2 separate regions of the Homo sapiens genome follow, and region 1 is linked to region 2. The links are contacts of gene promoters, found by promoter capture Hi-C in blood cells and fetal thymus (Javierre and others, 2016). All regions are on one chromosome and are shown on one strand. The core of a region is centred on a gene start or on the middle of the fragment in contact, and the rest is flanking DNA. Distances in the headings are between cores, read along the strand shown.

The links. Contacts are between HindIII fragments. The CHiCAGO score rates a contact against its expected background, and 5 or more counts as called.
Region 1: a contact is called between a fragment that was not itself captured here and the fragment with the promoter of NTSR1-AS1 in region 2, in 1 of 17 cell types (monocytes). The highest score is 5.7, in monocytes.

What each region holds. Positions count from the first base shown.
Region 1 is chr20:62,636,460-62,641,003 of GRCh38, forward strand. It overlaps LOC124904949 (a long non-coding RNA gene), which reads right to left. Exons shown (of 2, transcript XR_007067711.1): 2 at 1,186-4,544. Among named protein-coding and RNA genes, the nearest start is that of SLCO4A1, 3.8 kb to the right of the region's middle. RefSeq lists an enhancer at 1-37. The HindIII fragment of the contact is 4,159 bases long and covers 1,008-4,544 here.
Region 2 is chr20:62,732,309-62,737,043 of GRCh38, forward strand. It overlaps NTSR1-AS1 (NTSR1 antisense RNA 1), which reads right to left and starts at 3,051. Exons shown (of 2, transcript NR_199009.1): 1 at 2,918-3,051; 2 at 1-874. The region is part of intron 1 of NTSR1 (neurotensin receptor 1); the gene reads left to right. RefSeq lists an enhancer at 2,475-3,320. The HindIII fragment of the contact is 3,056 bases long and covers 1,052-4,107 here.

The DNA.
Region 1 (4,544 bases), core at 1,837-4,336, 96 kb before region 2:
GCCCCACAGACGCTGGGAGTGCCCAGGTTTTCTGACAACCTCAGCCGCTTGGCTAGAGCGTCTGGAAGGATTTGCGGGGAGCATGTCTGGGGGAATCGAGGCTCTGTGACGGGTGACGGCACAAAGGGGCCCAGCAGGCCTGGCTCCAGCGCCAGCCAGAGGAGTGGCCGGGGGATGAGAGAGCCCAGGAAGGCACCCCAGGGAGGTGCAGCACGCGCCGCCGACTCAGCCCTGGGCCCCGTACGCAGGAGCCACCCCCTTCCTGCAGATGGAACAAACCATCTGGGGTCAGGAAATTGAGCTGGCTCTTCTAATCTCCTCTAGAGCTCCACGTTCCTGGGGTTTAAGTAGAACATCCAGGCCTCTCAGTGAGCCAGAAAAGCCCATTTCTACCTTGTGATGGGGAAGATGAAAATTCTGTGAGTCTCCTACGTGGGAAAGGGTCCGGCTTGCCTGCAGGATGCTGACTGCGTGGCACCTAAACACAGAAAGTTCTGGAAGATTCCTTGCCCCTGTGTAGGCTTAAATATCGTTCACTAGCTCTGACAGTCCACCCAGGCCCTGGGCAACATGTTCCAGGGCAGAGCAGGTTGGCACAAGATGGACATGGTCATGGTGCCTTCCACGGTCACGGGACCCTGGGGACAGCAGACACCGCCCAAGAAGGAATCTCAGGGACCTGTGGGCATCCCTGTTTTTGTGCCTCTGGGTTCTATCACCTGACTTCCCCCAACAATGAGCTCTGCACATGGCCAGGGATCTCTGCACACGTCCAGGGAGCTCTGCACATGGTCAGCCAGCTCTGCACACGGCCAGGAACTCTGCACACCATCAGGGATCTCTGCACACAGCCAGGAACTCTGCACACGGTCAGCGAGCTCTGCACACAGCCAGGGAGCTCTGCACATTGTCAGGGAACTTTGAAAGGGCTGGGCAGGTCACCTTCCTTTCACCCCCAAGTGAGTGAGGCTGCAATGGGGTGTCCATGTCCTTGGACAAAGCTCCAAAGCTTCTAGCTTCTCTGAAGCTCACAGAGGTGTCAGCTTGGTGGGGAAGGTGCCAAGGCAGGGCCCTGGAGATGGGGACAGGGACTGCCCACTTCCATTTGCCAAAGTCTCAGCAAATGAAACATGAGGGAATGAATGCTCAAAGAGGGCTGCAAACAATCGCCAACAAGGTAAATGATTACATTTAACGCTTTTACTGTAAACACTCTCAATGCAATATAATCTTGCTAGTCATGCTGGGTGGGCCGGGATGAGAGTTAGCAGAAGACCTGATGGGTCTGTGCCTCGGCGGGTCCGGACTGCATGCACAGTTGTATTGGAAGCTAAGATAATCACTCACCTAACACGAGGCCCTTCCAGAATGTGAGGTCTCAGCCAAGTGAACCCTGTGAACACCTCCACCCCCAGACCCGCGGGGAGGCTCAGGAGCCAGGCAGACCGAGGCAGTTCCAGAAGCCCTTGGGCTGGCAGACGTTTGCCTCTTTGTAAGTAAGAGTGTATGCAGAAGACCTCACAAGCAGATCACCAGTGAAATTCAGATGACCCTTCTAGAGAGGCTGTGGGCAGCCAAGGCCCCAGGTGTGGACAGGGCTGCTGCTCTCCAGGTGCTGGGGGCCCCAGCATGTCTCTTCCTACAGCTCCATGTGCCTTTGCCACGGAGCCACCGGCATTCAGTGGCCTCTTCCCCACTTGGCTGCTATGTGTCCCCTGGAACTCAGGGCACTCCAGGTGTCCTCAGGTCATGTCTCAGAGCTCAGGGCCATCTCGCCAGGCAGGGAAGTCCAGATTCCAATTTTTTCTACCCCACACCTAATCTCTAACAGCAGGCTCTGAACACACAGGAATCAGTTGGTGGCTTCTAAAGAGAACATGATACCGTCATGTAGCTGCCTGTCCAGACGCTGAAGCCTGTGCTTTCACCGGACCCTAGTGCTTGTGAATGACGACCTCTGTTCTCCTGGGTCAAAACTTCCTTCACCACCGTCAAGAAGGCCACCCTTTGTCGGCGGGTTAAATGCAGTGTTATTTACATATGGTTTATCTGGGCATCTATAATCCCAGGGCGAGAGCCCACCATCCACCAGCATTTTGGAAGAACGCCTGAGACCTGAGACCTGAGACCTGGTGCAATGGAATCAGATTCCCTGGTAGCTGCTTTTAATGGTGACAGATTCTCTGAAACAGAAAAAGATTGAATTGAGTCTGTCTCCCTGGAGTCGTCCTGCTCTGGGAGATGCAGAGGGAGGGCGGCAGGAGGGAGGACAGTGGGAGGCCTCTGTTGGTCAATTGCTAGGCTGCTGTCACCAGATGGTGGATGGCGTTTGTACAGCACTGGCCAAGGGCCCAGCTCAGCAGGGCCAGAGCCTCAGGTCATGTCGCAGGTGAGCAAAGCAGCGTGGATGGAAGACGAAGATCTTCGTCCCACGGAGGGCTTGCTGTGCGCCCCGCAGGACGCAGATCACCGGGAAGAGCAGGAAGCAGAAGCGCAGGAAAGCCAATGCTGTGACTGAGGCGTGGCCAGCAAGCCAGGCCCTCCAGCCACACCCTGCTCCAAAGGGGCTCCGACAGGATGGACTGATGATTTCCAAGAGAGAACATGCTTTTTATCTTCTATGGAATTTTGCTACCAAAGAGCCTCCCAGCTACCTGTGCCCTTCCCTAACCTGACAATCTTAATTCCCCCATGAAACTCCTCCATCGCGGACATTTGGACAACTCCAGGCTGAGTTTTTCCTAAGGCCACTCTGGCCTTGTGCGTCTCTTCTTTGCTAAGCTGTGTGCCAGCCGCCAGCCCACATCTGGGTTGTACCATGATCCTAACTCCTCACCTGAACACAGCATTTAACAGACTGAAACGTGCCACTCTGGAGCTGGGGACTTCAAGCCACATTTCGCCTGCAGCCCGATCGCCTTCAATCTTTAGCAAAATCCTCTTTCTCATGCAAAACAGTGCAGTCGTAACTTTTAAAATATTTTTTAGAAACTTTCTCTAGAGCCTCCACCACATGGCCACAGCCTGAGACTTTGAAATAATGAAACAATTAAATGATGTTTTCATCATTTCTGAGACTTGCCCATTATCACGAAGCTGAAATGGCCATTTTTTTATAAGTCAAGGAAGGACAGGCAGTTTCAAATGAGTTGGCTAAGACATACGCCAAATTCATAGAAAATAGAAATGAACTATGACTACAGAATGGAAGCAACCACAGAAATATTAGCAGGATTTTAAGTATTATCCCAATCAAGTACTAATAGCTAAGTGAGGTCATTTTTTGGATACCATTCCTGGTCAAAGCTAGGAATGATGTGTGTTCCAGGCTGGACCCTCCAGGCAGAGGCACCGGGATCCCACGCTGTTTCTGGGTTGGCCATTAACCTGCCCCTTGACCTGACAGCGTTTCTCTCTCTTCTCTCTCTACACTTCTCTTCTGATCTTTAGATCGATTTTCCTCCAAGTGACAATGTCCATAAAGAGAGAGGGAGGTGGAAATACAGGCTGTCACATTTCAGCTCTTTGAGGTGCCTCTAAAGATGATGTCAGAGAACAGTAAGTGGCCCACAAATGTGCAGCATCTGTTCCGAGCCTCCTGAAGCCGCCCGGACAGGCAGCAGTACGACCCTGCAAGGCCACAGGGGAGCCAGGGGGTTCTCGCTTTCTTTTTCTTTTAATTATTTCCTCTCAAAAAAGAAAAAAAAAAAAGAAAAGAAAGAAAAAAAGCCCTGCTGGGATAGAACTTATTGAGTTCAGAATGTTCCAGGGCACATAATCAGGCTGCCCTTGTTCCAAGACACTGCTGTGCTCTGTAGCTGACCCCCGAGTCCTCTAGGGCAAGAGTAAGGACACAGTCGGCTCCCGAAAGCTGGTGCAGATGGACCCCACCACGCAGGGCCTGGAGTTGGGCCAGACCTGCAGACCCCCTTGATGGCCTGCGGCAGGACCCTTCACCTGGGTCAAGGCCTCCTGGTGCTCCTAGGGGCCTCTTGAGGAGCCTGGGCACCAGCATTTGCCTTTGAGGACAGGACTGAGGGCCTGCATTTTGCACGAATGTACCTGAAATGTTTGCTCTGGATTTACCTTTCCAATGGTGCCTATGCAGGAATCCCAAAGAATGCCTGGTGGGGTCTGAGGCGGGTCTCAGGCCGGGAGCCCTCCACAGGCAGCAATATTTGGCTAGAATTTAATGCCATTTTGTTTCTTTTTATCTATTTTTATGGTGACCTCTTTGTGGTAATTGACACTGACTTTTTAAAAAATAAACTTACCCTTTTAATCAAATGTGTGAATTGTTTAAAGGAAAAACATTGTGTAAATAATGTTTTCAGGGGGTAGAATCCAGACGTGAGTTTTGGAAACAGAGTCCAGTCCTGCTTCTGACATTTGAATTGCTTCTCCAGCATCATCACCAGAAGATGGGCTACCTGTGCTCACAAGCCTCCTGTAACACGGAGCTCACCACCTCTCAAAGGCACCTTCTGTCAGGTCTGCCTGGAAATGCTGCTCCCGCAGACTCCGCACCTGAGGCCAGGTCTGCA
Region 2 (4,735 bases), core at 1,801-4,300:
GTAGGTTTTTAGTAGATGTTCTCTACCAAGCTGAGGGAGTTCCCTTGTATTCCTGGCTTGTGAAAGGTTTTTCTCACAGATGGGTGTTGGGTTTTGGAAAATAGTTCCTGTTGCCATGATGGATTTCGATAATCTGTTTCCGAACCCTGGAGCAGCCTCGCATGCCTGGAATAAATCCTGTGCTGTCTAATTCTTACCATGTAGCGCTGCATGAGATTCGCTGCTATTTGTGTAATTCTTAGTATGTGGTGCTGGTTGGGAAATCCTGTGGTGTATAATTCTTAGTATGTGATGCTGGATTTGCTGCTGTTTTGTTGAGGGTTTTTGCATCTGTGTTCATGAGACATCCTGGTCTGCGTTTTCCTTTCTTGTAACATCCTCGGTTTTGTTATTGGGGTAATGCCGGCCTCGTAGAGTGAGTTATAAAGTGTTCCTCTGCTTCTATTTCCTGGAAGAGACTGTAGAGAGTATCTATCATCTGTTCCTTAAATGCAAGGTAGAATTCTAAGTCCGTGTCCCTGCGTGGCTCCAGGCACGCTGGTTCCCCATCTGACCCTCCGCTTGCTTTTCCTCGGGCTCTCCCTGCCTGGGCCTGGAGGACCACAGCGGGCACAGGGGGCGGCTCAGGCTGAGAACCAACGGCGCTGACGTCGCCTAAAGGGGGTTCCCAGCTGGCAGCCTCCAGGTGCTGGAATGTTTCTCGGTGAGAAGCCGCCACGGGAGTCTGTGGACTTGTCACATCACCCGCAGGCGTGGCCCTGAGGCCACGTATCCAAGCAGCAGTGCCGTGCATATTCATGTCGGCATTGGACTTGCAAATTCTGAGTGAAGTAAATGTCATCGGCAGTGTGTAGACGTTCTTTCGGAAGAAGATCTGTCAGAGAAAATGCAAGCTGATTACCAGCCTAACAGAGAAATGTGCATCCCGGTCCCCGCAGGGCCACCCTGGAGGCACCTCTGCACCTCCCAGGCACAGCTCTGGGAAGGCTGAAAATTAGCACCAATTAGGGAAGAATGAAGCTCTTGGTTCCCTCCTGAAGCACTTGGTTGAAGCTTGCTGCGCTCCTTTCCGGGAGCAAATGAGCATCTCTCGGGACAGTTGTGTTTCCCTTGGGCAGGGAGCCACTGGCAGCTCCCCAGTGGGAATCGTGCCTTCTAGTCCAGATTTCCACTTTGGAAAGGGAAGGTTCTAGAAAGTTCTGGAAAGCTCGGCTGTGGCTGACTCCTGGCTTAGGGCTCAGGCCTGTCTCACCTAGCAATGCAGGGTGAGCCATGTGGGCTGGCTTCTGGGGATGGGGAGGAGAGATACACACATGGAGAAAAAGAGGGAGATAGAGAAGAGAGAGGGAGAGAGAAAAGGAAAGAGAGGAGAGAGGGAAAGGCAGAGAGAGAAACAGAGGGAGAAACACAAAGAGAGGGAGAGAAGGAGAGAGAGACACAGAGAGAAAGGGAGGAACAGAGGAGAGAGAGGGGAGGAGGGGGAGGGAGACAGCACCCTCTTCTCCCTACCCTTGCCTGGGGTCTCAGCTGAGAGAGGGAAGGCTCTGTGCTGGGGAAGAGGCCTCCAGCAGGGAGTAGTGACTGATGAATGTATGATTGCTACTTTATCTCAATAGAGGATTCGAACAGCCCCCAGGCAGGGTCGCATTTTAAATGATGGTTTTGGGTGCTGAGCCAGCCCAGCTTGGAGGGGGTTTCGTTTCACAGATGAGGAGCCTGAGGCTGGGGGAAGCCACTTGCTCAGATGCACACGGCTGGGGCCGGCGGCAGGTTTGCCCGACCTCGAGTCTGCGCTTCTCATCCTGGAAGCGACCGCCTTGTCCCCTGCGCAGCCTCCTTCTCTGGCTCAGCCACGTGGGTTACTACTGAGTTCACTCTTCAGCCCTGGTGGGGGACGGGCAAGAGATGGGGCGTGAGGGGCGGGCGGAGGCAGCGAGGTCTGGGATGAGAGCTTTTCTGGAGCCTTCTCTGGAGTGTGACCCCCTTCCCCGCAAAAAAAAAAAAAAATCTTGGCTCAGCTCTTGGGCTTCGGTGCAGTAGGGGCTTTGTGGCCGATGCAGAGGAAGCCGAGCTCTGCTCCTGGAAGGACGTGGCCCCTTGTCTTACCCAGGCTTCATTTTGGGGCCATCTTTTTAGGTGGTTGAAAATGAGTAACTCATTCTTGACCTTGTGCAATGCCCACGCCCTGTGTCCGGGGCTGACCTGGAGGCTCTGGGTTCTCTGCTGAGCAGAGCTGGGGCCAAGACCACCCCTGGGGAGCGAGGAGCAGGCGCTGGTGTGCCTGGCCCAGGTGGCTTCCCATAAAAGCTGCAGGCAGCCCTGTCTAATGTGGCAGCCCTGGGCCACACGTGGCCACTGGGCATTGAGACATGGCTGGTCTGAGTGAAGATGAGCTTCAGCCTGAAATCCGCACCGGGTTTTAGAGTTAATGCGGAAAGGCGGTATACAATAGCTCACTAATACCGTTGCAAGTTGATATGATATTTTGAATACATTAAGTTAAATAAGATATCGTATTAAAATTATCATAGCTGTTTCCTTCCACTTTTGTAACATAGCTACTGGTACATTTAAGCCTCACGTGGCCTGCATCCTATTTCCACGGGACTGTGCTGCCCGAGCCCCTCCCTGCTGATGAGAAGCAGCCCTCGGGTGGCTTTGGGGTGTGTCCAGAGCCTGTACAGCCTCCCCTTGGGGTGGGGTGCCGCGTGCGGGGTGCCAGGCACCAGCCGGTGCTGAGGCCCCATGTGGAGGCAGCCCTGCATGATGGGCAGCAACCAGTGGGGTGCCATCGTGTGCGGTGACGTGCACACTAAAGAAAGACGCTCAGCTCCCTCCTCTGCCCCGCCTGGCCGCCAGCTCAGTGCCAAAACCATGGTTAGGGGGTGGGAGGCCACGGGTGCCCTTGGGGACCTACCAGGCCTGCAGGGTCCTTGGCAGAGGGGCAGTGCCTGGCACCAGGAGGACACTGTGCTGGAAGGTCAGCCTGTTCCCACAGCCAGGGATGTGGGGCTCCCAGGTAGCCCCATTCATAGTTATTTGAATTGCTGTGATGGAGGCAGGCGGAAGAGGTGGGACTGCGAGGGAAGGCAGGGGCCCCCCGGGGAGAGAGTGGGTGCCTCCTTCCCTTTCCTCAAAGCCCAACGGCCTTGCAGTGAGACTGCCACTATACAACAAAGAGCCAGCACCGCTGTGCACGCTGGAGTCTCACAGATGAGCCGATTATGTCTTTGTGACAAACACATTATTAGGAGTGAGATGAATTCCTTCTGTGGGCGGGGATGATTCAGAGAGAGGCGTCCCAGCCCCAGGAACAGCCTCCCCGCAAGGTGGCCTCAGCCTCCCCCATGCTCCCCTGGAGGCCGCTCCCTGGCTTGGGGGGTGGGTAACACGGGAGTCCCCCCGACACGGCGAGGTGAGCTCACCTCCTGAGGCTGGCGTGCAGGGAAGTAGGAAAGGGCACACACTGCGACCGGGGACCAGGGACAGGGTCTTCCCCGCTGTGACCTGTGGGGCTGTGCAGGGGGCGGGAGCAGCCCCCATCCCAAAAGGAAATGGGACAGGAGTTGCCAAGAACAGTTCCCCTTACCCTCCAATTCCTCACGGGTTCAGCACTTTCTCTGAGGGGGTCTGGTCTGAATCCCAAATTCAGATTCTGTATTCAACTGTTCCCTTCATTACAAAGAACAAATTTCCGAGCCCAGTAATTCCCGTTTAAATTTGTCAATTTTCATCCCTCGATAGAAATCAGTATGTGGTGATCACAAAAGCCGGGGTATTAGCCCAGTGGACAGTTTGTTCTGAAACTTGTCCCTTCGGGGCAGGGCCTGGGTTAGGAGGCCTGAGATCTGCCTGGAGCCTGGGGTGCCTCGGGCAGGGGCATCGTGGCTGGGGATTCTCTGCACTTGCCCCATGGAGCAGGGCGGGAAGGGAAGCCAGGCTCCTTTCCCTGTCTGGGTCTGGGGCTGCTGCCCTTGGCAGCTGGGGAGACCCTGGGACCCCAGAGGCAGAGCCCCACTCTCTGTACCCTCAGGCGCAATGCCCTGAAAGACAGGCGCCACTTTGTCTTCAGAAAGGCAGGAACCAAACCCCTCTCACAGTTCCAGAAGCTTCCCTGAGTCCCAGTTTAGACGCAGAATCTCCTCTGTGGATCACTCCAACTGGGGAACCAGGAGAGGGGGTTTGGGAGAGGAGGGAAGTGGCTTCCACCTGTGGGTGGGGCAAAGAGAGGGCTCCCAGCTATGCAGGGCGGGCCCAAACCTCCAGCAGAGCCCCTTTCCCAGCGAGGACTCCGAGGACTCCGAGGCCCTGGCCTGTGGCTCCCAGGGAACAACCTGGACCCTCAGCATAGGACCCGCAAGCTGAGACCCTCCTCTGTTTTACTGCTTCATTTTCCATCTGTGACCAGGGCCCAGGCCACATGCACACACCTGGCGTAGGAGTTACTTCGTGATGTGTTTGGCTGTGTCCCCACCCAAAATCTCATGGGAATTGTAATCCCCATAATGCCCCGTGTCAAGGGCAGGACCAGGGGGAGGTGACTGGATCGTGGGGGCGGTTCCCCCAGGCAGTTCTTGTGAGAGTGAATCTCATGAGATCTGATGGTTTTAGAAGCGTCTGGCGTTTGCCCTGCTGTCACTCACACCGTCCTGCTGCCCAGTGAAGAAAGTGCCTGCTTCTCCCTCCACCATGATTGTAGGTCTCCTGAGGCTCCCCCAGCCCTGCAGAACTGTGA